Linked DNA regions of Homo sapiens: regions 2, 3, 4, 5 and 6 are each linked to region 1. The links are contacts of gene promoters, found by promoter capture Hi-C in human tissues and cell types (Jung and others, 2019). All regions are on one chromosome and are shown on one strand. The core of a region is centred on a gene start or on the middle of the fragment in contact, and the rest is flanking DNA. Distances in the headings are between cores, read along the strand shown. Region 1 holds the start of IRAK1BP1 (interleukin 1 receptor associated kinase 1 binding protein 1). Region 2 has its middle 25 kb from the start of HMGN3. Region 3 has its middle 43 kb from the start of MIR10524. Region 4 overlaps HMGN3 (high mobility group nucleosomal binding domain 3). Region 5 has its middle 13 kb from the start of MIR10524. Region 6 has its middle 8.7 kb from the start of MIR10524.

Region 1 (4,778 bases), core at 1,483-3,982:
AATTTGGGCTGATTCTTTTCTTTTCTTTTTTTTTTTGAGACAGTGTCTCACTTCCATAGCTCAGACTTGGGCTAATTCTTAAAGAAAAATACAATAGAGGGGAGGAAGATATGATAGGAGATGAGGATAGTCAGGCTCCATCTTTTTTTTTTTTTTTTTTTTTTTTTTTTTTTGGGACGGAGTTTCACTCTTGTTGCCCAGGCTGGAGTGCAATGGCACGAACTCAGCTGACTGCAACCTCCGCCTCCTGGGTTCAAGCAATTCTCCTGCCTCAGCCTCACAAGTAACTGGGATTACAGGCATGCACCACCATGCTTGGCTAATTTTGGTATTTTTAGTAGAGACGAGATTTCACCATGTTGGTCAGGCTGGTCTTGAACTCCTCACCTCAGGTGATCTGCCCTCCTCGGCCTCCCAAAGTGATGGGATTACAGGCGTGAGCCACCACGCCCGGCTCAGGCTCCATCTTTTAAGCAAAGGAGTTTGGATTATGAGGAGCCCTTTAAGCAGGGAAGTGATGTTTATAAATCTTACAGCTCAGAATTCTAAAGTTTAAAATGAATACAGACTTTGTGAAGACCCATAATTCATTCTGAAAATATAAATGATATTTTGTATTATCTCCTGAACAAATTATCTACCTGACTGCTTTCATCCATTAGCAGAGATAATTGGGAGGTTACTGTCTTTCTTATGTCTTGCCTTGAACACTGAATCTTGATTACTCTAAGTTGGACTTAGTTAATTTATTTACTTACTACTTATTTGAGACAGAGTCTCTGTCACCCAAGCTGGAGTGCAGTGGCACCATCTCGGCTCACTGAAACCTTCGCCTCCCGGATTCAAGAGATTTTCCTGCCTCAGTCACCCTAGTAGCTGGGATTACAGGACTGTGCCACCATGCCCACCTAATTTTTGTATTTTTACTAGAGATTGGGTTTTGCCATGTTGGCCAGGCTGGTCTCGAACTCCTGGCCTCAAGTGATCCACCTGCCTTGGCCTCCCAAAGTGTTGGCATTACAGGCATGAGCCACCATGCCCAGCTTATGTTGTTTTATATATTAGAGACCTGTGAGCTCTTTTTATTTTATGTAAATAACTTAAAAACTTGTTAACATTATTCAAACGACTACAGCACTAGTAGCAGTTTTTTAAAACTATTTTTCTACATATTAAACCCACTTTACTCACATTATTTATAATTATCTGTATTTTTCTAAATTGTAAAATCATTTGAAGAAATCTTGTCCAAATGACTTTGTAATAACTTGTATGTTTGTATTATAAATGCAATTCAAATATCTTTTCTTGTTAAAAATAAGGACTTGCTTTTTCGGGGTATGGAATTTCTTGCAATAGACTGGAAGTAACAATGCCTGCACTTTTACCAACTCAATGTCATCCTGGATAAGTTACATCTCTGGCCTTTGGGGTCCTACTCTATAAAATGAGAAAACTGAAATCGTTGATCCCTATGATTTCTAATTTTCTTTCATTCTAATTATCGGCAGAATTGGAAGCAACTTACATTCTGGTTTCAGGAATACATGAGTTCAAATATTGCTCTACCTAAAGTTCAGAGCATTGTTTAACCTCTTTAAATTTGGAAAACAGGGATATTAAAACATGCCTAACAGTGCTATTGTGTGGATTAAATGATGGCTTCATTTTTTTTCTTGCCTTAGGAGTAGGCTTAAGGTAAGATTTGTTTAGTGATTTGTCTCATGGACATCTCCGTTAAGTAAGTAGAAGTATTTCGTATATGTGGTATCCACAATACTGGCTTGATTTTTTCTTTTAAGTTAAACCTAAGAAGGCCGAAGAAATTTTGGGGGAATCACTATAAAATGAAAATCATTATAAAATGAAAATGGACGCAACTTCTTCCCCACTTCCCAACGTTACTGTTTGCGGAACATACTCAAGAACCATTCCATGCAAAGTTTTACATGATCGGAAGGAAGCAGGTCGTGCTCTTCACTTGCCAATTCCATGGTGCGGAATAAAAACAAAACAAAACAAAATATTTAGTGTCCAGCACTCCACGTGGGCAAGTATTTACAACTAACATTTCAAGTTTTAACATTTCATCACTTTAAATTTAAAAACAAAATCACTGAAGCAAATATCCCCAGATAAAAACCTACCCAATTTGCATTCTTTTATTTTTAATTTGCCTGAGGCCAATAATTACCTTCGTCTAGGAGAAGAATGGGTCAAATATTCACTCTGCCAGGTCCTGGCGTCCCGGAGTACCTTTGCAACAAACGCGTCCTAAACGCTCCAGACCCTCCACATCTCCCTTCCCGCTAGGGGGGCCTGTGGGGCCCGACCATCTGCCAACCCTTTTGTGTCTTCCGGCTCTTATTTCCTCCCCCGCGGAGATCTCACCTGCACGCCCTGCTGCTGGAGGCTCTGCGTGATGTAATCTAGACGGCGACAAACGCTCTTTTTGGCCTCGGCTGCCGCCTCCTTGGTGCTGCTCACTCGCACCACCACCTGCGCCCGGTCAGGGCCCGCAGACACTTCTGAGGTGCCGCTTACTTGCACCTCGCGGGTAGCAGTTTGGGCTTGTGTTGAGGAGAGGGGGTGGCGTAAGCCCGGTAGCGTCTCTCTCCCTGAGGCCAGGTTGTTCTCCCGGCTCCGGTCAGCCCAGGGAACCAGTTCCACGAACACTCGGGTCGGAGGGGTCTTTTGCAGAGACATAGCGATGGCAGCTGGGTTTCCATAGTAACTACCGGCCGACGGCGGCCGAAGGGGCCAATGCGCACCAGGGCTTGCCTGTGCACGGCGCAAAGTATGCCGGGATGGGTGTGGAGGCCGCGGAACTTCTGGCGGGCGCAAGCTATATGCCTTGTTGATCTTGCCGCATCTTTTTTACTAGATGTCGGCTGAGTGAGTAGCTACAGTTTTTAACATGTTTAACTTACGGCCTTCAAAAATTGTTAGCGGACTTTCTCTGTTGCCTCCTCAGTGAGCTCTGCCCTTTCTCGCAACTCCTTGTCGTCCCACCGCGCCTCTGCACCTCAGAGGAAGGAGAAGAGTAGCGAGGCCGAGCGGGTTTTTAGATTTCTCTGTGATTACCCCCAGCCTTGTCTTTTCTGACTTTACCGTCCCCGCTTGGGGTACTGCTTTTTGAGGCTCCCTCGGCCACATTTTTGTGGTTCGTGAGAGGTTTCAGTTGAGGTGAACTTTTTGCCCCTGTGATCTTGGACAGTTTATGATTCTTCATATCTCAGTATCATCTTCTCTAAAGCAGGGTTGATAATATTTTTTATATTAGTAATATATAATATATTCTAATATATATAATATATTCTAATATATAATATATTCTAATATATATAATATATTAATATTATCAAAGCAATGTTGATAATATTTTTCACATTTGCTATGTGCTTATAAGGCGCCCATTGTATGTAGAGTGCGTTGCATATGGAAAGCAGAGTGAACATAATGGATGTTTGTAATGATAGCTATGGCTTTGGCATCATTTTTGTGTCTCCCCATTTTTTTCTAAAATCCCTGGAATGGTTCGGGCCTTGAATTCCGACAGAAGAGATTTAGGTGGTAGCAAAGCACGTCCAACATGGAGTTTGCTGGGCCTGCACAACTTGGAGCTTCTCTGTACCCTTTTCTTCAGAGAACTTTTAGAACACAACCCTCAACTTCCCGTCTTCTGGATTCTCTTCCTAGCACTAAGCAATGATCTTTGTAAAAATAGCCCCACTGACTTATACGTCTTTACTATCTGAATTTTATCAAGAGAATCGAGGGGGGAAAAAAGAATTTTGAATAACTAGTTCTAGAAGGACAAGAACTGTTCTTTTAAAAGGACCCTGAAAAGCTGACAGTCCTCTTGTAGTTTCTTCACCATCGTTTTTTCTGTTCTTTTCGATTAGTATAATTCAACTAAATCAATGGTACCCCCCTCCTTTAATTAGGCTCATCACTAGATTAACATAATTTTGTGTATATCCATCTTGTTTATTGTTAGCTGAAAACAATTTTAATTTAAAAACTAACGTTAAGAACTTTCCGTCATAGTCTTTTATTATTTAAGACACCCAAAATAATGTTTCTTAAACTTGGTGAAAAATTCTTTTTCCCTTACGATAAATGCGGAAGAATATAGCCTCCAAAATAAATTATTGAATGAGTGAATGTCATAAACAAAAAGCAACAGGAGTTAAAGTGTAAGTATTTAGTATACGATAAAAGATTTCATATCAGTGGAAAATGATTACATGGTACAGGGATAATTGTAAGCTATATATATAATATACTATAGCTATATAGCTATAGTATATTTTATATATATATATATTTTTTTTTTTTTGAGGCGGAGTCTCGCTCTGTCATTCTGGCTGGAGTGCAGTGGTGCGATCTGGGCTCACTGCAAGCTCCGCCTCCCGGGTTCACGCCATTCTCCTGCCTCAGCTCCCGAGTAGCTGGGACTACATGTGCCCGCCACCACGCCCGGCTAATTTTTTTGTATTTTTAGTAGAGATGGGGTTTCACCGTGTTAGCCAGGATGGTCTCGATCTCCTGACCTCGTGATCCGTCCACCTCGGCCTCCCGAAGTGCTGGGATTACAGGCATGAGCCACGGTGCCTGGCCCATTGTAAGCTATATTTTTAAAGAATTTGTATCTTATATCATACATTGAAAATAATTCAGATGAGACCAAAAAGAAAAATAATTGGAAGAACCTATATGTAAATATAAATATTCTGGGGGATGGGAAGGCTGGCCTTAATCATAATTTCATGTGC
Region 2 (4,778 bases), core at 1,248-3,747, 390 kb before region 1:
GGGGCTTCCCTACCAGAACCCCAATAACTCCAGCCACAGGCTCAGAGACAGAATTCAGATCTCTCTGGGCCTGAGCCCCTAGGGGGAGGGGTGGCCACAGTCTCTACGGACCAGCAGAGTTAGCCTCTCCTCCTGGTAGTTCTGAGGAATCCAGACAGCCGAGATGAATGGGTTTTCACCCAGTGAGGCACACCCCCTCCACCAAGGGAAAAAGTGCTTCATTAAATGGGTCCTGCTCCCTGTGCCACCCAAATGAGTGAGACCCTCCAACAGGGGTTGTCAGACACTCTATACAGGAGCAGTCCTACTGGCATCAGATTGGTGCCACTTGAGGTTAGAGGTCCCAGAAGAAGGAGCAGGCACCATCTTTGCTGTTCTACAGCCTCCTTGAGTGACATCTCCAGGGAGCGAATCAGATGAATATGGCCAGAGGTGAACCTCCAGCAAATTGCAGCAGTCCTACAGAAGAGGAACCTGACTATTGAAAGAAAAACAAACAAGCAGAAAGCAACAACAAAACAGCATCATCAACAACAACAACAAAAAGACCTCCATGAAAACCCATCCAAGGGTCAGTAGCCTGAAAGACAGAAACTAGACAAATGTAAGAGGATGAGAAAGAATCAACGAAAAAATGCTGACAACCCAAAAGGCCACAGTGCCCCTTCTCCTCCAAATGATTGCAGCGTCTCTCCATCAAGGGTGCAGAACTGACAGAGGATCAGATGGATGAATTGACAGAAGTAGGCTTCAGAGGATGGGTAACAAACTATGTTGAGCTAAAGGAGCATTTCTAACCCAATGCAAAGAAGCTAAGAACCTTGATAAAAAGTTAGAGGAATTGCTAACCAGAATAACCAGTTTAGAGAGGAACAAAAACGACCTAATGGAGCTGAAAAACACAGCACAGGAACTTCGTGAAGCATACACAAGTATCAACAGTGGAATCGACCAAGCAGAAGAAAGACTATCAGAGTTTGCAGACCACCTTACTGAAATAAGACATGAAGACAACAGTAGAGAATAAAGAATAAAAAGGAATAAACAAAGCCTCCAAGAAATATGGGACTTCATAAAAAGACTGAACCTACAATATTCAGGATATTATCAAGGAGAACTTCCCCAACCTAGCAAGACAGGCCAACTTTGAAATTCAGGAAATACAGAGAACACCATTAAGATACTCCACAAGAAGATTGACCCCAAGACACATAATCATCAGATTCTCCAAGGTCAAAATGAAGGAAAACTATTAAGGGCAGCCAGAGAGAAAGGCCAGGTTGCCTACAAAGGGAAGTCCATCAGACTAACAGTGGACCTCTCAGCAGAAACTCTACAAGCCAGAAGAGATTGGGGCCAATGGTCGACATTCTTAAAGAAAAGAATTTTCAACCCAGAATTTCATATCCAGCCAAACTAAGCTTCATAAACAAAGGAGAAATAACATCTTTTCCAGACAAGCAAATGCTGAGGGATTTTGTTACTACCAAGCCTGCCATGCAAGAGGTCCTGAAAGAAGCACTAAATGTGGAAAGGAAAAACTGGTACCAGCCACTGCAAAAACAAAGCAATATATAAAGACCAATGACACTCTAAAGAAACTACATCAACTAGTGTGCAAAATTACCAAATAGCATCATGATAACAGGATCAAATAACAGGATCAAATTCACACATAACAAAACTAACCTTAAATGTAAATGGACTAAATGCCCCAACTAAAAGACACAGACTGGCAAATTGGATAAGGAGTCAAGACTCATTGGTGTGCTGTATTCAGGAGACCCATCTTACATGCAAAGAACACACAGGCTCAAAATAAAGAGATGGAGGAAAATTTACCAAGCAAATGGGAAGCAAATAAAAGCAGGGGTTCCAATCCTAGTCTCTGACAAAACAGACTTTAACAAAGGTCAAAAAAATAAAGTGGGCAAAGGATATGAACAGGCACTTCTCAAAGGAAGAAATTTATGTGGCCAAGAAACATATGAAAAAAAGCTCAACATTGCTGATCATTAGAAAAATGCAATAAAAACCACAATGAGATGCCATCTTATGCCAGTCAGAATGGCAATCATTAAAAAGTCAAGAAACAACAGATACTGGCAAGGCTGTGGAGAAATAGGAATGCTTTTTTTTACACTGTTGGTGGGAGTGTAAATTAGTTCAACTATTGTGGAAGAAAGTGTGGCTATTCCTCAAGGATCTAGAACCAGAAATACCACTTGACCTAGCAATCCCATTACTGGGTATATACCCAACAGAATATAAATCATTCTATTATAAAGATAAATGCACATGTATGTTTATTGCAACATTATTCACAATAGCAAAGACATGGAATCAAACTAAATGCCCATCAATGATAGACTGGATAAAGAAAATGTGGTACATATAAACCATGGAATACTACACAGCCATAAAAATGAATAAGATCATGTCCTTTGCAGGGACACAGATGTAGCTAGAAGCCATCATCCTCAGCAAGCTAAAACAGGAACAGAAAACCAAACAACACATGTTCTTACTCATAAGTGAGAGCTGAACAATGAGAACACATGGACACAGGGAAGGAAACAACACACACCAGGGACCGTCAGGGGAGAGAGGTGAGGGAGAGCATCAGGACAAACCACTAATGCATGTGGGGCTTAATACCTAGGTGATGGGTTGATAGGTGCAGTAAAACACCATGTCACACCTATGTATCAATTATATATGTTTACCTATGTATCAAACCTTCACGTTCTGCACATGTATCCTGGAACTTAAAGTAAAATAAAATTTAAAAAAAAAACTTTACCAAAAAAAGGAATTATTTTGTAACAAGACAGTTGGAGAAATTGGTTATTTTACCAAGGCTTTGACTGGAGTGGCTTGCTTTCTTTTAAGGAATCAAACTTGACTTATAGAGCCAATAAAAGGCTCTTTGGAAAACTGGCCTCATACCTTGTCTACACAGTCCCTGTACAGGGTTCCTGACCTGTGGTAAGTAAAGAATGTCACTTTCTAACAGGCCCAGGAGCCCCAGGTTATCTTGGTACCTCAAGAAGAGAGGAATTTACCCTGTTCATAGGTATTTGATGATAAAAACTCATGGCTAGGATCAGGTTTAAAAACAGTCTTATCTGAGATTCCTTTTATGGAACAAAGTTCCATAAAAGCCAATGTAAAAAGCTTATATGAAAAATAAGTATCCTTGCTGCACTTTATACCAATAATCAGGCCAAGTATAATAAAGCAAATTGGTCTTCCCATGATATGTCTTTAGTAAAAATGGGAAACTGGAAAGAGGAAAATTATGTTTCAAGAACTAAGGTATACCTGTTATTTGATTCTAGTCTCATCAGTTGTTTTTGAGTTTTCTTTTTCCCAGCAATTTAGACTAACCCTGCTTATTCCTGTGAACCAACCAGTGATCTCTGGCCAGTGCTCAAAAGAAACAGGAGGGACCGGTAATGTAAAAATCTGGATTAGTATTCTATTTCTGGGTATGTATTGGCATCAGCTAGCAACCCCACATCAGGTTGTTTCCAACAGTTGCCCAGTTCATGGAGAGTCTTGTTATTTAGTTTACTTGGGATAATTTTACTTACTTTGCTTTACTGTTGTGCAATATATTCCTGTTGTACTCGTTGTGTAGGAATGCAGGATAAGCTTACAAAACATTTTCTTAAATCAAACACTTATTAATCTTCCAGATATCACCTTTTGTTGGAACTTGGAGTTATAAGTGGCCATACTGATGCTTTCTGACTGAGCTCCTCTCTACCCCAAATACAAGAGACCCTAATAGTTAAGCAAGAATATCATCACCCCTATTCAGCCTGAAGAAGTTACAGAAGATGGATCTTTGCTGCTCTAGAACACTTAGGATTAAGGGTTCTCTTATAAAAAGGAAGGGTGAAATATGTCAGAGGCGTTTGACCAAGAGCTACTCCATCTTGAATAGGGGCTGGGTAAAAATAAGGCTGGGACTTACTGGGCTGAATTCCCAGGAGGTTAAGTCATTCTTAGTCACAGGATGAGATAGGAGGTCAAATCATATTTTCCAGCAAAAGTAAAACTTAATAACATTACATCAGAGTGAACAGGCAACCTACAGAAAGGTCACAAAGACCTTGCTGATAAAACAGCATATGGTAAAGAAGCCAGCCAAGGGGGTGGAGCCAAGATGGCCAAATAGGAACAGCTCCAGTCTACAGCTCCCAGCATGAGCGATGCAGAAGACGAGTCATTTCTGCATTTCCAACTAAGGTACCAGGTTCATCTCACTGGGGAGTGCCGGACAGTGGGTGCAGGACAGTGGGTGCAGCACACCGTGCATGAGCTGAAGCAGGGCAAGGCATCACCTCACCTGGGAAGCACAAGGGGTCAGGGAATTCCCTTTCCTAGTCAAAGAAAGGGGTGACAGAGGGCACCTGGAAAATTGGGTCACTCCCACCCTAATACTGCACTTTTCCAACGGGCTTAACAAACGGCACACCAGGAGGTTATATCCCACACCTGGCTTGGAGGGTCCTACGCCCACGGAGCTTCGCTCATGGCTAGCATAGCAGTCTGAGATCACCTGCAAGATGGCAGCAAGGCTGGGGGAGGGGCGCCCACCATTGCCGAGGCTTGAGTAAACAAAGTGGCCGGGAAGCTCAAACTGGGTGGAGCCCACCACAGCTCAAGGAGGCCTGCCTGACTTTATAGGCTCCACCGCTGGGGGCAGGGCACAGACAAACCAAAGGCAGCAGAAACCTCTGCAGACTTAAATGTCCCTGTCTGACAGC
Region 3 (4,778 bases), core at 1,021-3,520, 370 kb after region 1:
TGAACACTAGTAATGTCCAAGCTGAGACCCAAATCAAGAACACAATTCCATTCACATTAGCCACAAGAAGAAAGCACCTGAATAGCCAGAGCCATCCTAAGCAAAAAGAGAAAAGCTTGAGACATTTTACTACTCAACTTCAAATTATACTACTAGGCTATAGTAACCGAAATAGCGTGGTACTGGTACCAAAAAAATAGATACATAGACCAATTGAACAGGTTCAAGGATCCAGAAGTAAAGCTGCATACCTCTGTAACCATCTGATCATCAACAAAGTTGACAATAACAAGCAATGGGAAAAGGACTCTATTCAATAAATGGCTCTGGGATAACTGTCTAGTCACATGCAGAACACTGAAACTAGACACCTACCTTTTACCATATAAAAATTAACTCAAAATCGATTAAAGCCTTAAAATGTAAAGGCTTTATAGCCTAAAACTATAGAAACCCTAGAAGGAAATGCAGGACATACCATTCTGGACATAGGCCTTGGCAAAGATTTTATGATGAAGTCTCCATAAACAATTGCAACAAAAACAAAAATTGATAAGGGTGACCTAATTAAAAAGCTTGTGCACAGCAAAATAAACTATCAACAGAGTAAACAGACAAGCTAAAGAACGGGAGAAAATATTTGCAAAGTATGCATCTGACAAAGGTCTAATATCCAGAATCTGTAAGGAACTTAAGCAAAGAACATACAACCCAATTAAAAAATGGGCAAAGCACATAAACAGATGTTTCTCAAAAGAAGACATACATGCGGCCAACAAGCATGTGAAAAAATGCTCAAAATTACTAATCATTAGGGAAATGCAAATCAAAACCACAATGAGATACCATCTTACACCAGAGTGGCTGTTACTAAAAAGTCAAAAAATAATAGTTGTTGGTGTGGTTGCAGAGAAAAAGGAATGCTTTTACACTGCTGACTGTAAATTAGTTCAGCCACTGTGGAAAGCAGCTTGGAGATTTCTTAAAGAACTTAAAACAACTGTTATTCAACCCAGCAGTTCCATTGCTGGGTATACACCGAAAGGAATATGAATTGTTCTAACATAAAGACACATGCATGCATATGTTCATCACAACACTTTTCACAATAACAAGGACATGGAGTTAACCTAGATGTGCATCACTGGTGAGCTGGACAAAGAAAATGTGGTACATATATATCATGGAATACTACAAAGCCAGAAAAAATAATTATGTTCTTTGCAGCAACATGGATGCAGCTGGAGGCCATTATCCTAAGGAACAGAAAAACAAATACCACGTGTTCTCCTAAGTGGGAGCTAAACATTGAGTATACATGGACACAAAGGAAACAATAGACACTGGTACCTACCTGATGAGGGAGTGTAGGAGGAAGGTGAGGGTCGAAAAGCTACCTGTTGGATACTATTACTGTGCTCACTACCTGAGTGATGAAACCATTTGTACACCAAACCCCAGTGACATGCAATTTACCCATGTAACAAACCTAGGCATGTACCCCCAAACCTAAAATCAAAGTTCAGAAAAAAAAATGAAAAGCAAATAAAACATGAGTATGCTCTGAATAAAGGCATACCTTTCTGTTCAATAGTAACATGTATTTGATATCTTTTGCTAGGGGATCTTCTAAGTTTTTTTGCACGTAAATTGTTGGGCACATAGCAGAGGCTAAACTAGTTTTCAAACTGCATTGTCTTACTGTCTTACTATACCAGTCGCAGTCCCTGGCTTTGCAATAAGTTTCTGGACAGATGGAGTTAGCCAAAATGCTATCTAGCAATCGGAACCTGGGTTGCACACTCCAGCTCAAATGCAATTTAATCAGCATACCCTTTGGGCATGTACTGTCTGCCAAAGGCAGCTCCAGAGTAAGGTTGAAGTGAACCTAGGTTCTGGAAGGTCCAGGGTTTTTAAAAAAATAACATCTTGAATATTTGCAAATTTATATGAAGATACAGAAAGAAATGTTGAGGTTAAGAAAATTTATCAAAAATAGTTGCTCCATTACAGAGTCCCCTGAGGATAAAAACAGAAAGCATATTTTGAAGTCTTTGTTTTTATAAGGTGTTGGCCAAAAGGTAATTTCAATAATTCTCTTACCTCTTTCATTTATGTCTATCATTTCATCAGTGGGGGTCACAGCCATTTACTCCATTTTTGGAGATGCCATTTAACTCAAAAATCCCTGGAAGGAGTAGCAAAGTGGCTTGGATTTATATGAAGGTAGGAACTGGTGGGTTTGGATGATGGTGAGGAAAGGAGTGGGCAGAGGAAGAGACAAGAGTGAGTCTAAGTAGGGAGAGCTGTGCCGGGAAAGTCTTTGAAAGGAGAGAGCTAGTATGCTGGGAATGAAAATAGCTGACTTTAAAATGGTCTAGAATCAACCCTGGGTGCACATTATTATTAATTTTCTTTGACACTAATGATTTTTAAGGTAAGCCTTCAGGACTTGAATACATTGGAAAAATTGAGAAAAGCAGACTTTTCATCATCCAAGCCTCTTCTTGCCATGTGATTGTGTGTTCTGCTTGCAGGGCATGTTGCTAAGCAAGGAGACAGAAGTGCACATTCAATATCTGGTTCTGCAAATTTGTCCCTAAAGATTTTAGGGCTTCATTCAGGCAGAATTTCATATTGAGTTATTCTTGCCTTAAACTAGCAGACACTGGTCCTTCGGACTTAAAATGGGTCCATTTGCTGAAGCTTTCCATTCTGAGCTTCCCTGAGGAAACGAGAAGCATTTATTGTCACCAGGGGTTGCTGGTTTGGAAACCCTCTTTCCTGCTGCTGTGTTGTTCTCTGATTGTACATCTGGGGTACAATTTGGGGTGAGGAAGAAAGGTGGACCCTAAAAGTTACTGGCTTTGTCTTTCCCTGGCCTGGCTTTTAAAAAACTGAAGGTGTTTCGGTGACCCCTTTCCCTACTTGAAAGTAATGTTCAAAAAGAGTGAAAAGAGAGCAGGGTTTTTTTTTTGTTTTTCTTTTTTTTAAGGCTTTCATAGTGAGTAGTATTTTTCCCCATTCTAGTTTTCTTTTAAAATTATAATGATAATTCTACTTCACATATGTGCTTGTCCTATAGATCAGACAAGGCATTAATTTGCTTATTGGAGTTTGACAAACTGCCTGTATTGACTTATTGTCAAGCCAAAGCAGCCCCCCCGGTATAAAGGCTCTGAATTATTTTCTTTTTATTTTTCTTGGGGGGTGGTAAATGAAATATAATCTTGAAGGCTCCTCTTTCTCTGAATTTGTTACAAGGAAAGTGGAATATAGACAAAGCAATTAGGATCTCCATGCAGGAATAAAACTTACTTGCATCTTTACTAGACTGTTATTAATTAGTAAAATGTAGTTCTCTGTAAAGTTTAAAAACTATATTCTCACTCATAGGTGGGAATTGAACAATGAGAACACATGGTCACAGGAAGGGGAACATCACACTCTGGGGACTGTTGTGGGGTGGGGGGAGGGGGGAGGGATAGCATTAGGAGATATACCTAATGCTAAATGACGAGTTAATGAGTGCAGCACACCAGCATGGCACATGTATACATATGTAACCTGCATATTGTGCACATGTACCCTAAAACTTAAAGTATGATAATAATAAAATAACAAAACAAAACAAATCTATATACTGTCTAAATTTTTGTATGTGGAAAAAGAAAAATTCAGAATATAATTCAAAATATGTTCAAATCATTATAATATCAAAGATAATTTGAACTTGTAATCCAGGAGTGTCTTAGTAAAATAAATTTGAACTACAGCAGGAAAGTATTAGCTCGGCTCACAGGGACAATTATTTCCTGATCAAGGAACTGGATGATCTGGAACTGATTTTAGATTCTAGGGAAAAAATGGATCATTTCAATGAAATTCTTGAAATGTGTATGAAGTGAAGCAGAAAACTGGGACAAAATAAAATTGGTCATTCATGTGTTTGCTTCTCTCAAAGCTTGAATAATAAATTTGAAGGTTTAATAACCAACCCTACTCCTGGTCTAAATTTAATGTGGGCAGAATAATTGGTGTGTCTCCATGTCCTTTGCTGAAAATTCTGCCATCAACTGTAAAAATAATTTTACTCAAGTATGCATTTATGGTTGGAAATGGTTAGCTAATTATAAATGAGCTGCTGGAGCATTAAAACTATTAATTTAATAAATTTTCTAACCAGTGTGTCTTTAGTCCCAGAGCAATCTCTGGCACATATTAGGCATTCAATAACTATTTTTTAAGTGAATGAATTAAGTTAGCTGAGATAGAGGCAACTTCATCTTTAGTATACATAAATTAAATCTCTGCTATGGTTTGAATGTTTATGTCCCCTACAAAATTCAGGTTGAAATTTAAATCCCAGTGTAACATTACTAAGAGGCGAGGCCTTCAAAAGGTGATGAGGCCTTATGAAAAAGCTTTAAAGGGTGAATTTGGCCCGTCCATCTCCCCTACCATGTGAGAACACAGTATTCAAGGTGCCATCTTGGAAGCATAAACTGGGTCCTCAACGGACACTGAACCTACCGTACCTTGATCTAGGGCTTCCCACCCTCCAAAACTGTAAGAAATAAACTTCTGTTCTTTGTGAATTAAATTATCCACTATAAGATATTTTGTTATAGCAGGAAGAACAAATTAAGAAAACATTCCCAATAACAAAAAATGGGAACTTTCAGCAGGGTATGGTGGAAGTTCTGGGAATACAGACTGTCATATGAGGACATTCTAAGGAAGGATGAATCCCATAGAGAGATCAGTAGGGCTGAAGA
Region 4 (4,778 bases), core at 1,662-4,161, 350 kb before region 1:
GGTTAAAAGAAATGATTGTTGGTCTCTTTGCACTGTTATATATACCATCAGCTTTTCCTCGTTAGCATGGATAACCTAGGAGTTGAGATTGGATTTATTCTGGGGCTGCTGGCAAATGGTTATTTGAGTTTCATAATTACTGTAGGCCTTCAGCTAATTCGCTGAAGTCGTAAAACAATAGCCTTTGTCACTTAAACTCTTAGAAGTAAAACTCTAAGTAACTAAGAGCCTATGTGTACCAATGAATTTGTACTACATGTACCAATACATGTACCAATACATGTACCAATGAATTGGTACTACATGTACCAATGAAGGTTTTTTGGAAGTTTAACATAAGAAAGGTCCAACACTGTGCTGAAAATCCTGAGCCCTCCTCTTTCTTGTCTTCCATGGGCTGAAGATCACTCCTAGTGCAGTAGCGTTAAACTTCTCTGCCTCCTGCCTCTCCCTCAGTGTCCTTCTCCACACTAACAAAGCCACAGACTGCTGCCATCTAAAGCCGTTCCTAAGCAGCTGTTGAAAGGGTGTAAGGATTTTCTTACACTCTTCTGATACCTTCTTGAGTTTGGAGGGAGAAAATTGGGCTCATCACCCCACAGTGCCTGTTTATGTTGTGGTAAGCACTGTTTACATGAAAGAAGGTCAGCAAACCTTGTTGATTCTTCATGGATGGCCTATGGAATAAAAATTCCAAGTTTCTTCCCTTGGTTTCTGATAGGGACTGCTGGAAAGACTTAAGGAAAATACAGTTCTGATCCCTTCAGTACATTTGAGTGTTCTGCACATGCAGGACCCAGGCATCTTTGTGTAAAGAAAGAATGGGGATGGCACAGTTGGTCAGCTGTTGAAGGAATCCACACTCCCTCTGCCCATCTCGACTCCCACACTCCTTCAAGAGTTCTGAGTCCAGTGCCTTCATTATCAGTACAAATGAAGCAGTTATATTACATGTCTTGTACAGAAGAGGAGGCAATATAAACCAGATTGATACGATATTGAAGAAATAGAAAAAATGCTGTGAGTAAACCTAGTTATGTAATTTGTATTAGGGAGTAGATATGGTACTGTTTTTAATAGAGTAGGTTTGCTTTTAGTCTTTTTCTTCTCCCCAGTATGGATAATATTTTTATTTAGAAAAAAACATAAATACAGAGAAATCCAGGAAATAATATAATATACCTATTTACCCACCACTGAGAATTCACAAATTGGAGTCTTTTAAAAATCATTGTTCATTTCAGGCCTTTTTAGAAAATAAATTATTAAAGTTCAGTTTCCTTTGAAACATCCCCTTGGTTCCTTTTTCCTTATCATCCCCCCTAAAGATAACCATCATCACGAATTTGTTGTGTATTCTTCCAGTTCTTGCTTTTATACCTTTATGACACATCCATCCATCCATCCATAATATTGATTTGTGCATGTTCTAAAATTTGTATAAGTGGTGGGGCGTGGTGGCTCACACCTGTAATCTCAACACTTTGGGAGGCCAAAGTGGGTGGATCACCTGAGGTCAGGAGTTTGAGACCAGCCTGACCAACATGATGAAACCCCATCTCTACTAAAAATACAAAAATTAGCCAGGTGTGGTGGCACGCACCTGTAATCCCAGCTACTCTGGAGGCTGAGGCAGGAGAATCGCTTGAACCCAGGAGGTGGAGGTTGAAGTGAGCCGAGATCGCGCCATTGCACTCCAGCCTGGGTGACAGAGTGAGACTTCGTCTCAAAAAAACAAAAAAGGCAATTTGTAGAAGTGTAGTCCTGTACATGTATTACTCTGTTTCTTCCCTCTGTCACTTGTCATTATAATGGAAGGGTATACTATGTCTAGGTATATTGTGATTGCTGATTTATTTGGACTTTTTATGTTTTCTATTCTTTGTTTTCCTTTGTTTTTTACTTTCCTGCTTTTTATTGGTAAATATGTTTTATTCCACCCCTCCTGATTTGGAAGTTTATAGATCCTATTTCTGTTCTTACATTTTTTAATGGTAACTTTAAATTTTATTTTAACAAAGTCTAAAATTAATCTGTATCTGTATCATCCTCCAGAACAAAACCAGGACCATAGTATCCTTTAACTTCTTATCTACCGACCCCACTTCTATCTTTCATGATTGTTTTTGTCTAAAGCTGTGCTATATGGTAGCCATTAGCTGCATGAGTTTATTAAACACTTAAGAATGAGGAGCTGAATTTGTTATTTAATTTTAATCAACTTAAGTTTAAAAACTGATATTAGAATCAGCGATTGGTAAATTATAAATGTTTGGAGCAACCTGGGTAAAACTACTGTAAGTTTTATGAATTCTAAATACAGATTAGATGTTCCTGATAAAAATTTAGCATTTGAATAAAAATGTGTTCTAAGTATAAAACGAACACCAGATTTTAAAGATTTAGTACAAAAAAGTCTGTGAAATATCTCATTAATCTTTTTTTGCATTAATTACAGGGTGAAATAATAAAGTTTTAGATATAGTCAGTTAAATAAAATATTAAAATTAGTTTTACCTGTTTTTATGCTTTTTTAATGTGGCAATTAGAAAATCTAAAATTATATGTTGTATTTCTGTAGGAAAGAACTGCTGTAGAATTTCTGTTGAAACTTAAAAACACAATAGGTAATGTTGTTTACGATTAGTGGTTAATTAAATTTATTAGTATATTTTTTACATTTTTTTCTTACATAGTTTTCCTTCCTTCTAGATTTGTTTTTCTTATTACTAAATTTGAACCTTTAGTAATAGATTCTTGTTGAAAGAAATGCTTTGTTGGAAGTGAACTCTCTTTATGTTTGTATTCTGAAATGGCTTTATTTTGCCATCACTCTTGAATGATAGCTAGGTATAGAATTCTAGGTTGGCAGTTTTCCTCAACTCCTTGAATAGTACTCTATATTTTCATACATTTGTATTTGTTGTTGGAGAAGTAATTCTTTATAGGTAATCTGCCTTAACTCTGATAACTTTACAGATTTTCTCATTTTCCTTGATGCTTTGTAGTTTTATTACAATATGTCCTGTTGTATTATTTTGTTTGTTTTGTTTTGTTTTCAGTTTGTTCCTTGGTGTGAGTGTTCAATCTGGGGAGTCAAGACTTTACTTTGGGAAAATAGTCATTATGTCTTTGCCTTCCTACTGATACCTCTTTCTCTGCTTCTGAAATGCCTATTAGATAGTTGTGGAGCTTCTCAATTAACCACATCACCTAACCTCTCTTTTGTTCATCCTTTTGTTGTTCTTTGTTGCATTCTTAATTCCTCAGCAGTCTATGGCAGTTCCTACTGTGTCTGGTCTAGAGTTTATCCGTGTTTTGAGTTTTTTATTTCAATGAGCCTGCTTTTATTAGCTTCAAAATTTCTATTTTGTATGAATCAAAAACATTTTAATATAAAACATACATACGTATGTAGTATCTAAATAAATATTATTTACATAATAATAAACCACCATCTAGCTTAAGAAATATAACTCTTACCAATGACTTTGTCTTTCCCAGTCAAATTACCCTCCCTTTCCTCAGCAAAAGGTAACCTCAGTCATGATTTTGCAGTTATCATTTGTTATGCTTTTCTTTATAGACTTTTCTTGTATTTGTATTTTCAAACTTTATTTAAAATCGTGCCATGACTTCCCTTTTTTGCCCAACATTACGTTTGTGAGATTCATCTCTGTTGATGTGCACACCCGTAGTTCATTTGTGTTCACTGCTACATATTATTTGATTATATACCACAGTGTATATATCCTTCTGATGACATATGTTTAGGTCGTTTCTACTTTTTAATTAATTTTAGCTAAGTATATATTTTTTCAACATCCTTTTATTTTCATGCTTTCTATATCCTTGAGTTTTTGGTGTCTCTTTTAAGTATCATATTGTTGTATAAGTGTTAGTTACCTATATTGTTTATTATTTTTAAGTCTTAAAATCTAATTGAGCAAGCATTCCTTCCCTCCCCACTCCCCATTGTTTTCCTTCTTGGGGTGTGCCAGAAGGGATAAGAAACAAAGCCTAGGGCTGGTACAGGGTGAGAGCATACAGGAGTATCCTCACATAAGCAGCTTCCTTAAAAGGCATGAGAAACCAACAACAAAAAGTTAAAACGTCTCTTGCAGACGTGGATACGTGCATGAGACCTTTTTATTTGACCATGATTTGGGCCCTCTTGACCATTCTTGGTTCAAACTGGATTAGTGTAAGCCTGTTGTGTCCTGGAGAGTGGGGCAAGAGCCCCCTTTGCCTTGGCAGTCCCTGCATCCCGTCTAACTCTCCTCATCTTTCACATCCACCTGCCAGGAGGTTGAAGTACATCTGAGATCCCCTATATCCACCCCCAGCCTTTTGTTTCCCTCCTTTCTATGTTTTTATTCTTCGCAATCCCTTGGCACAAAAAGCTTTGGGTTTCTGTTTTAATCCCTTAAAACCATGCTCTCTTCCTTCCTGTCTCCGGCCTGTGGCTTAGTGTTAATTGATGGAGAGGGTTATGTGATAAGACAGCTTATAATGGTAGGTCTTTCCAAAATAGTCTACCTGTTACTCTGTGCAACAAAAACAGATAACCAGTTTGCAGGGAATCTGGATGTAAGGAAATGTGCTCAACTTTAAGGCTCTGTTGAATATAGTTTCATACTGTATAATTTAGAAGACTAAAGATCTTTTTTATTGCATAACCTCTGTGTAACAATTTACAGTTTATGAAATGCTTTCTCCAGTATCTCACTTGATCATAAGCAGTACCCTTTGAGTTAGCTGTCATTATCATCTATCAT
Region 5 (4,778 bases), core at 677-3,176, 340 kb after region 1:
GGGCACTGTTTAAATACAAGATGTTATTATAATTGTTATTATTAAATGGATTACTGAGAGATAAATGCAGCAATAAAAAGAACATTTCTCCAGTTACCTAAACTGATGTATTCCACATGAAAGAGAACTTCCCTAAGGCACTAGTACACAGAAGATGATTGAATGAAAGGCTTTGTAGTGGAGAATTAAAACATGCCTGGGACAAGGAGGCTGTGCACTTAGATAAGTTTCATCGATTGAAGAAGCCAGCAGAGGCAATGATGGTACTGCTCAGTTACTCCTGGTGCAGGTGATGTGATGTGAGCATCTTTCATTGCTAAGGACTCACTTCCACTTTTATCTCCACCATGGCATCTTTGTGGATACGTGAGAGCTCTTGATAATACTGGGCTTTGTCAGTATTTGAAAGGTTATCAAGATTCTGCTGTCTTCAAAGATGGACAGATATTGACAAATAAAAACAAACCAGTCATCTGTATTTAAAATGGAAGAAAATTAAAATTTACCCTCACCTGTCTCTGCTGTCATTAAATCAGTTGCACTAAACTGCTTTACTACAATTCTTACTATTTCTTCTCTTTGATTTCTAAATATCTTTTCAATGAAAGATAATTTAAAAATAAATCACATTAGATGGTATAACTAACTAGTAAAGCTTATTCTAAAACTTTGAAGGCTTTTAATCATCCAGTAAGTGCAATGCATAATGTAAAGATTAATCAGTATGCACAAATGTATTCCTCTTTCTCTGTTTTTATCCTTACATTTTATCTTCCCATGAGAATAGAATTAGAGGTTTGGACTTACAATATTCAAGGTGGTTTAAGTTGTTTTTTGAGTGTTTTCTGTAAACCAAACACTATTCTAAGTTTTTCAGTGAAAAAAATGGTTTCTGCTCTTATGAGGTAGAGGCCCATCTTGGCATGATGATAGGCAATAAGCCCTATTCATAAGAAATATCTAAATTATATAATCTGCTAGAAGATGATGGTTGTTCTTGGGAAAACAAACAAGAGTAAAGACTTGAAGGAGATGATCATAGGATATTCAGTATATTTAGACTTTTTTAGTTCAAAATGATTATAGGCTAATGTTCAACATAAAAAGGAAAAGTTAATTTTGTCTGTGTCACAGAAAATGGATGAATTCGTAGGACCGCGCAGAGGTTTTTAAAGCAGGTTTTGCAGGTTTTCTCTCCTTTGTTAATTGCATGTTTTATTTAAACTACTTTTATAATCAGATGTCTCCAAAAGGAGCATCATCTCTTTCACTATTGGATGAACATGTTGTATGTTCCCCCATTTGTTCAGGGTATAGCACATTAGCTCTGATGAAAACAAACAGTAACAAAAACAAAAACTCCCCATATGTTGATGAAAAAAAGAACTAAAAGCTAGAATGATATCACTTTAGAACAGGACAAGTTCTTAGAGATAATTCAATCCCACCCCATTATGTCACATCTGGGTGTTTTGGCTCCAGCCCAGTGGTAGTTCTGACCACTGGGGTTGATCTCTTACCTCTGATCTATAAAAAGAATGACAGTCTCACAAGGGGATCTCTAACATGCTTGGAAGAGCATGTTAGAAGCATGCCCCAAACATTTTATTTTCCAACACACACCTTCATGAGAGAAGGAGAATAATCTATCCACTCCCCAGAGAACATGTTAGAAGCATCATCTCTTTCACTATTGGATGAACATGTTTTATGTTCCCCCATTTGTTCAGGGTATAGCACATTAGCTCTGATGAAAACAAACAGTAACAAAAAAAAAAAACTCCCCATATGTTGATGAAAAAAAGAACTAAAAGCTAGAATGATATCACTTTAGAACAGGACAAGTTCTTAGAGATAATTCAATCCCACCCCATTATGTCACATCTGGGTGTTTTGGCTCCAGCCCAGTGGTAGTTCTGACCACTGGGGTTGATCTCTTACCTCTGATCTATAAAAAGAATGACAGTCTCACAAGGGGATCTCTAACATGCTTGGAAGAGCATGTTAGAAGCATGCCCCAAACATTTTATTTTCCAACACACACCTTCATGAGAGAAGGAGAATCTATCCACTCCCCAGAGAACAAACCTGGGCAAAAGAGTCCACACCTTTCCAACCTCTAGAGAGCACCAAAGAGATGTACCAACACATGAGCTCTTACCTCTTGTGAAATCTCTCAGAGGTCACGCCCCTGCCAACATACTTGGTTTCTGTGGGACTTGCGCAGAGGACTAGACCCCCGCTCCACAAAGTGTGATTCTGTCTTGGAGCAGCAAAAGTGGCAGCATCTGGGAGCTTGTTAGAAGTACAGAATCTTGAAGGTTCTCCCAGACCTGCTGAACAGGGAGAGGATCCATAGGTAATTCAGGTGGCAGTAAGGACTGAGACACACTGGACTGAAAAAAACTCCGTGGGGGCTTTCCTGACTAGGGAAAAGCACCTCCCTGCTTTGAACTTGACCTTTGAATCCTGCACAATGCCTCTCAACAGCCAGCCCATCTGTGTTCTGGGAGAATTCAACCAACTATTCCATGCTAATAGTTATTAGACCAGCTTGACTGATTACTATGTCTAGTGCCCAATTTTGGCAGGCCTGTGGGCCGGTTTCTGAATGTGTTTCCCTTAGATGGAGGGGTGGATGAGAATTTGAATGGAACAAAAGAGGACTGTGCCAGTTCTCCCAGACATCTTGCACTCTGGCCAAACCCTCCCCTTTGCCCTCTCTTCCATGTGAGCCCAAATGTTTTAATCTCCTTTCTTTCTCCACTAGAGAATCTGGCTCTTTGAGCATTCAACTGTTCATTTGCTACACATTTGTTTAACATTATTGCAAATATTAGGGGATATTGTATGCAGGGGGGGACCTTGGTTTGGGGGAAAAAAAATAGAAAAATTATCCTATCTGCTCCAATACCTGAATTATTTTTACTTCTGTATTTTGTTCCTTTCTGACTTATTTTGATTTTGATATCCTATCCAGTTCTGTGCTTGCCTTTTGGAGATCCCAGGCTACTCATTGTTTACCTAATCATCACTACTCTGGCTTTCAGTAGAGCAACTCCGTCTGCTCTTATGTGAAATAAGCTTGTTGTTCCTTCCTTCCTTGGGCCAGGTGGAGGATCTCAGAATCACAACAGTTTTCCATTCTTTGCTTCATTTTCTAGATAACACTTATATGAGGCAAGGATCACTATTGTCTCAATTTTATAGACCAGGAAAATCAAAACTCAAAAAATTAAAGGGTTTCTTCAAGGTGCAACCCTTGGAGTTTATTGCTGAAGGAGACAGGTCCTGATGATGGATAACTGCAAAGGAAGTAAAAATTCAGTTTAACTTAATTTGAACTTCTAAAATATGTTTTAGGCAGGTTGTTTTAAGAAATAAGAGCTAAGATTATAGAGCCCAACCTTGTGCCCATGATGGACTAATTTACGGATGAGCAGACTGAGGGACAGGAAGGTTAAGAAGCACAGGAATTATCAGAGCTGGTGTATGAGCCCAGGCAATCTGTCTCCACTTTACTGTCCTATCTTGCAGTACTAAAGAATATGTAGGAACTACTTAAGAAAACACAAATATAGGTGTTTTCAATTATTCGTAAAACCCTACAGAAGGTAAAAGTTTTGTAAAGGGCAGGAAGTTCAGTTTTAGAAGAGCCAGATGCAATAATGCCTTATGTTTGAACAGAGATTTTCTCCAAAAAGATCAGTAATTTGCTTTATATCCCTGCCCACCTTCTGACCTAAGGCCTTCTTTGTTAATAAGGAAAAGATTAAAGGCGTGAAGAGAAAAAAATGAATTTCTCTATTTAAATAATCAAATAAAGTGGTGATTGCAGCTGAATACTCAGCTAAAACTTCAGCAGTCAAATGTGAACCAGCCTGAGATTAGAAGGGTTTAAAGCTCTCAAGCAAATCTGTAAGAGGTGGATCAGGGTCCACTCTTCATCAGAGCTGATTGTAGGTGGATGTTTAATGAGCACATGATATGTCTTCTGAAACAGAAAAACACCTTTTGAAATATAAGTTGACATTCACTCAGCTCTCCAAGATTCAGCCTTTCTATGTGATTGTGTGCTTCATGCTCATGTGCCAGAAATAAAAATAAAGTCTGGGAGTGGCAGGAAGATTCTGGGGCTCTGTGAGATGGGCTGATGCTTCAGGTGGCATATTTATTCCACGAATTGGAATAAATATGACAGATCAGCTTGGTCCATTCACTAGACTTGCACAAGGAGAGAGCGTTGGGGAAATACACTGGAGTCACATGTGTCAGGTGTTCTACTTTCTAAACTACCTTCAGGTGCTTAATTAATCCAAGGGGAAAAAATGTGGTTTATTTCCCAATAAGGATGGAAAGGCATGTTGGAAATTCCTCTGGTCAGTCAGTAACCAGATGGACACCCAATCCTGTAGATATTTCACTGAAGCATCTGTGGAAGAATGCATTGTGGGGACATGGGAAATATGGTCCCAGGGAAAATCTCTTTTATTTCACCATGGGGGTTCTATGCTTGCTCATGGCTTAGGAGTAGAGATAGGAATTGTTTCAGGTTATCTGAGGCTAATCCCAGAGCCTACTCTGAGCTTCAGGCTATGTTCTTGAGGCCATGTGTCAATTTTGATACATATCCTCGGGTGGTTTGTGTCCAGTGGAGCTCAGTGCAGTTTTGACTTTCAGTGTCCTCTCTGAAAGTTTGAGAGGAAATAAAGGAAGTAGGGAAGGGATATGTGAACTCTTGGGCTACTTCTCAGTATAATTTGGAGTCCTCTGGTACT
Region 6 (4,778 bases), core at 1,203-3,702, 320 kb after region 1:
ACTCTGTCTCAAAAAAAAAATACATAAAAAGAAATAAAAAATAAATAAATAATAGGAAGTGTCACAATGTGTAATAGTGACTTTAAGTCCCTTTAGTGACTTCCTCTTCTTCAGTAACTGGTGAACACCTCAGCATTCCTTAGGAAAGAGGCCTGAAGAAAACAGGAAGTAGGTGAATGTATCAGTAATAATATGACAGGTGCTAGTTTTTAAGTACCTGCTACATATCAGGCAGTATGCTAAGCACTTTCCATATATTATTTTACACATTTAAGTGAAAAATCCTCATCACAAGATATGGTAACTTACAAAAAAAAATATTTGAAAAGAAGAGACTATTTCTTATAAAGGTGGCCATGCTGGCAGGCTAGGAAGTGCACCTCCAGCCAAAAACAGGACTCAGTGTGTCAAGTTAAAAAATCACAGGACCTACAAATTTAGGAAGGATACTTTATTTTTTTGTAAAGGGTTATAGACTGTAAGGTGGCTATCTTGCAGACTGGGAAGCATGCCTCTGGCCAAAGCCATTAGTAGGCATTTTGAGTGAAGATAAGTTGGGGTAGGAGTTTTATGTTGAACAAGTTGGCTAAGCATATATATTTAACAGGTTATAGGATGAGTTATGAATAGTTATGAAGGTGGTCCTGATATATGTGTATCGAACAAATTGATGTATATATGACCCATGTTTATTTGGGGGTGAAGGTTTAACATTTAAATGTATTGTAATTAGGCTTTATATGTCAAATAGTCTTTTCAGGACATGGAGGCACGTAAGTGCACAGTCTCTGCAAACTGGCCAGAACCAGTCCGTGGTTGGTAGATGTTTTATCAGGAGAAAGTTACCGAAATGAGTCTCTTTGTCCAATCAAAGCTGTAGTTATGGCACCTTGCCTGGCATGACCTTACGTCTTGTTTATAATTTGGTATCTTTTTTTGTCACAAAGAGTCTGTCCTGTCAGTCTTATGATCTCTATTTTAACACTAATGCTGGTCAGCTGTTGTGTCTAAACTCCAAAAGGAGGGGCATAACAAGGCATGTCTGACTTCTCATTTCATCATGGCTGGGAACTCAATTTTCAAGTTTTTTGGGGAGTCTTCTTAGCTAAGAGGGGGTCTATTTAGTTGGTAGAAGGCTTAAGCTTTTATTTTTAGTGTATATAAATGTATTAAACAAGCTATTTTGTCAGTTTAATTTAAAACTATAGCTTACAAAAATTGAATGAAACAACAAATATTACTTTTCTTTCTCTACTTAATACTATGTCCAAAATTTAAAAACTATTTAATCCCACTAGGCCAATCTATTTTCCATTGCCAGCACACTACTAAATCTAAACTATGTTGAGCAACTTACCTCTATGTCCAGAGACTATCACAAAAAGGTGGGCATATAAGATTATAAGGGCCAGTTTCAAGACAGAAAATTAGTTCAGACCCTCCAAATCAAAGATGGGTATGCAAATACCTAAACAGCTGATGACTCAACACATAAAACTTATACATAAGTCAATTTTATAATCTTGCTTTTGGTTTTGGCTCTTGTATTACTTAAAGGATTTTAGGAATAAGTGAGTACCTGCCTACTTCCATTTCCATCTGGACTAAAACATTTAATTGACTATAAATCTTTTGACTCTATTAAGTCCCTTGGCCACAGCGATCCCACCAAGGGACAGGATAGACCCCAGGCAGGTAGCCATGCTACCCCAACAATATGGGACAAAATGAAAGTTTGGCCATAGATGCAGCCTGCGGCAAATCTTGGCCCAAAGTGGGGGAAATGTAAACTAGAAATAAAATTCTAAGCTCCCCATCAACTAAAGAAACACCCTCTTAGCCAAGGAGACCCCCCCAATATACTTAACTGAGTTCTCAGCTATGATAGAATGGGAGCCCAGACACTCTTCATTATACACCCTTCTCCCTTTTTCAGTCTAAACACAACAACTGACCAGCATTAATGTTAAAATAGAGATTGTAAGACTGACAGAGTAGACTCTTTATGACAAGAAGATATCAAAGTATAAACAAGACCTAATGCCATGCCAGACAAGGATTAAGTCACATATCCCTACACTTGAAAAATAAACTATGTTCTAACGCCGCAGATTTTTCTTTCTCTATCAGCCAAACAAACACTGGCCTCTAGATAAACAATATTAAACAATCACAACTCATCCAACTCACAGACACTGACCAATGGAACCCCTTGTTCTACCAGCCATATTTATAGCTTTGATTGGATGAGAGACTAATTTCAACAACTTTCTCCTTATAAATATGTGTTAACTTAAAAATTACAAGGTAGAACTTAGTTTAGGAGTGTAATATCCAGAATCTACAAGTAACTGAAATTCACAAGAAAAAAAACCCCATCAAAAAGTGGACAAAGGACATGAACAGACACTTCTCAAAAGAAGACATATATGTGACCAACAAGCACATGAAAAAAAGATCAGCATCACTGATCATTAGAGAAATGCAAATCAAAACCACATTGAGATACCATCTCATGCCAGTTGGAATGCCTGTTATTAAAAAGTCAAACAACAGATGCTGGCTAGGTTGTGGAGACAAAGGAATCCTTTTACACTGTCGGTCGGAGTGTAAATTAGTTCAACCATTGTGGAAGACAGTATGGTGATTCTTCAAAGACCTAAAGATAGAAATACCATTTGATCCAGCAATCTTATTACTGGGTATATAACCAAAGGAATATAAACCGTTCTATTATGTAAAGACACATGCACACATATGTTCACCGAAGCACCATTCACAATTGCAAAGACATGTACTTAACCTAAATGCCCATCAGTGATAGACTGCATAAAGAAAATATAGTTCATATGGACCATGGAATACTATGTAGCCACAAAAACAAGATCATGTCCTTTGCAGGGACATGGATGGAGCTGGAGAGGCCATTATCCTTAGCAAACTAACACAGGAACAGAAAACCAAATACCGCATGTTCTCACTTATAAGTGACAGCTAAATGATGACAACACAGGGACACAAGGGGACAACACACACTAGGGCCCTATTGGAGGGTAGAGAGTGGGAGGAGGGAGAGAAGCAGGGAATATAACTAATGGGCATTAGGCTTAATACCTGGGTGATGAAATAATTCGTGCAACCAACCCCCATGACACACATTTACCTATGTAAAAACCTGCACATCCTGCACATGTACCCCTGAACGTAAAAGTAAAATAAAAATTAAAAAAAAACCGTTTACAGAATTGGATGTCTCAATATTTGGCGATAAGTATGCTGTATAAGAAATCTAAACACAGCAATATATATTAGATCAGAAATCCAATAGGTATCCCTTTTTACTGTAGTTTGGATAATTTCTTCACTAAATGCTACCCTCCCTGTAATCTCGATTCCTTTGTTTCTGTGTCCCACAGTGCCTAGACTCAGTCTTTTTCTTTAGTTACTGGGGACTCATTCTAACTCATCTCCAACATCTGTTTGCTCACCAGTGAGTACCCTTAGTGCTCTGTCACATTTTTATTTCAAACTCACATCCTTTACTTTTTTTTTTTTTTGGTGCATCTTGCTAAATTTTTAATCTCTTCCCTTTATACTGGGTTGTCTCATGTTTAACACTTCCTTTGAAATCTTTTCTTAAAATTTAAAAATGTCTTTAGTTTTATAGATTTAGGGGGGTACAAGTACAATTTTGTTACATGGATATATTGCATAGTGAAGTCTGGGCTCTTAGTGTAAACATCATCCAAATAGTGCATTTTGTACCCATTAGGTAATTTTTCATCCCCCTCCCACCCTCCCACCTTTCCAAGTCTCCAGTGTCCATTATTCTACTCTCTCTGTCCATGTGTACACATTACTTAGCTTTCATTTGTAAGTGAGAACATGCAGTATCTGATTTTCTGTTTCTGAGTTCACTGAAGATGATGGCCTCCAGTTCCATCCATGTTGCTGCAAAAGACATAATTTCATTCTTTTTTATAGATGAGTAGTATTCCACCATGTATACACACACACACACACACACACACACACACACACACACATATATATATATATATAATATATATATATACATTTTCTTTATCCAGTCATCCAATGATGGACACTTATGTTGATTCTATGACTTTGCTATTGTGAAAAGTGCTATGATAAACATATGAGTGCAGGTATCTTTTGAATATAATGGTTCTTACACACAATTACTTTATTAAGAAAAAGCCAGGATCATATAATTCTTCTATATTTGAAGCCAGGACAGAACATTCCAAATTCTAAAATGGAATTTTTCCCTTTCTTTTGCAGTTTTTAAAAAGTATCCATGTGCTATCTTGTAACTGTGCTACCCTAAATTGCTTCTGTTGCTTGGAAGATGGGTGCTGTTTAAAGACTTCAACCTACAATGAAGTATGCTATGTCACATTTTTATTTATGTGGAATAGCTTATTCTTCCCAAAGTGGACTTTCATTTTAATAAAAGACTGCTGGAAAGAACAATGAATTAATACCTAATGTGGAATATAAAATTGCTTGGAACCCATATATGTTTTTTATTGTTAATAATAATTTATTGAATGCTTTCTATGTGCCAGGCACCACACTACATTATCTCATTTAATTTCCATATCAATCATTTACATTTTATCTGTATTCCACAGACACAGATGCTGAGGCTGAGGTCAAACAACTTGTCTAGATCACAGTGTTAATAAGAGGCAGAATTCAGGGCTTAAGAGATTGCAAAGCTGGTTCAGAGTTCCTTCTTTAAGGAGGGCCTT

The links. Contacts are between HindIII fragments. The study calls those that stand out against the background at their distance.
Region 2: a contact is called between a fragment that was not itself captured here and the fragment with the promoter of IRAK1BP1 in region 1, in 1 of the 25 tissues and cell types used here (adrenal gland).
Region 3: a contact is called between a fragment that was not itself captured here and the fragment with the promoter of IRAK1BP1 in region 1, in 1 of the 25 tissues and cell types used here (small bowel).
Region 4: a fragment that was not itself captured here is called in contact with the fragment with the promoter of IRAK1BP1 in region 1 in 1 of the 25 tissues and cell types used here (spleen).
Region 5: a contact is called between a fragment that was not itself captured here and the fragment with the promoter of IRAK1BP1 in region 1, in 1 of the 25 tissues and cell types used here (thymus).
Region 6: a contact is called between a fragment that was not itself captured here and the fragment with the promoter of IRAK1BP1 in region 1, in 1 of the 25 tissues and cell types used here (H1 embryonic stem cells).

The regions. Positions count from the first base shown.
Region 1 is chr6:78,865,505-78,870,282 of GRCh38, reverse strand. IRAK1BP1 (interleukin 1 receptor associated kinase 1 binding protein 1) reads right to left here and starts at 2,732. Exons shown (of 4, transcript NM_001010844.4): 1 at 2,392-2,732. The coding sequence starts at 2,706. It overlaps LOC107986613 (a long non-coding RNA gene), which reads left to right and starts at 2,793. Exons shown (of 2, transcript XR_001744210.2): 1 at 2,793-2,895. RefSeq lists enhancers at 1,945-2,545, 2,378-2,697, 2,728-2,837. The HindIII fragment of the contact is 12,955 bases long and covers 1-4,778 here.
Region 2 is chr6:79,256,835-79,261,612 of GRCh38, reverse strand. No RefSeq gene overlaps it. Among named protein-coding and RNA genes, the nearest start is that of HMGN3, 25 kb to the right of the region's middle. RefSeq lists an enhancer at 3,534-4,733. The HindIII fragment of the contact is 4,719 bases long and covers 138-4,778 here.
Region 3 is chr6:78,494,169-78,498,946 of GRCh38, reverse strand. No RefSeq gene overlaps it. Among named protein-coding and RNA genes, the nearest start is that of MIR10524, 43 kb to the left of the region's middle. The HindIII fragment of the contact is 3,849 bases long and covers 346-4,194 here.
Region 4 is chr6:79,217,415-79,222,192 of GRCh38, reverse strand. The region is part of intron 1 of HMGN3 (high mobility group nucleosomal binding domain 3); the gene reads left to right. Among named protein-coding and RNA genes, the nearest start is that of HMGN3-AS1, 14 kb to the left of the region's middle. The HindIII fragment of the contact is 4,303 bases long and covers 760-4,778 here.
Region 5 is chr6:78,523,999-78,528,776 of GRCh38, reverse strand. No RefSeq gene overlaps it. Among named protein-coding and RNA genes, the nearest start is that of MIR10524, 13 kb to the left of the region's middle. The HindIII fragment of the contact is 4,934 bases long and covers 1-4,393 here.
Region 6 is chr6:78,545,607-78,550,384 of GRCh38, reverse strand. No RefSeq gene overlaps it. Among named protein-coding and RNA genes, the nearest start is that of MIR10524, 8.7 kb to the right of the region's middle. The HindIII fragment of the contact is 5,619 bases long and covers 1-4,778 here.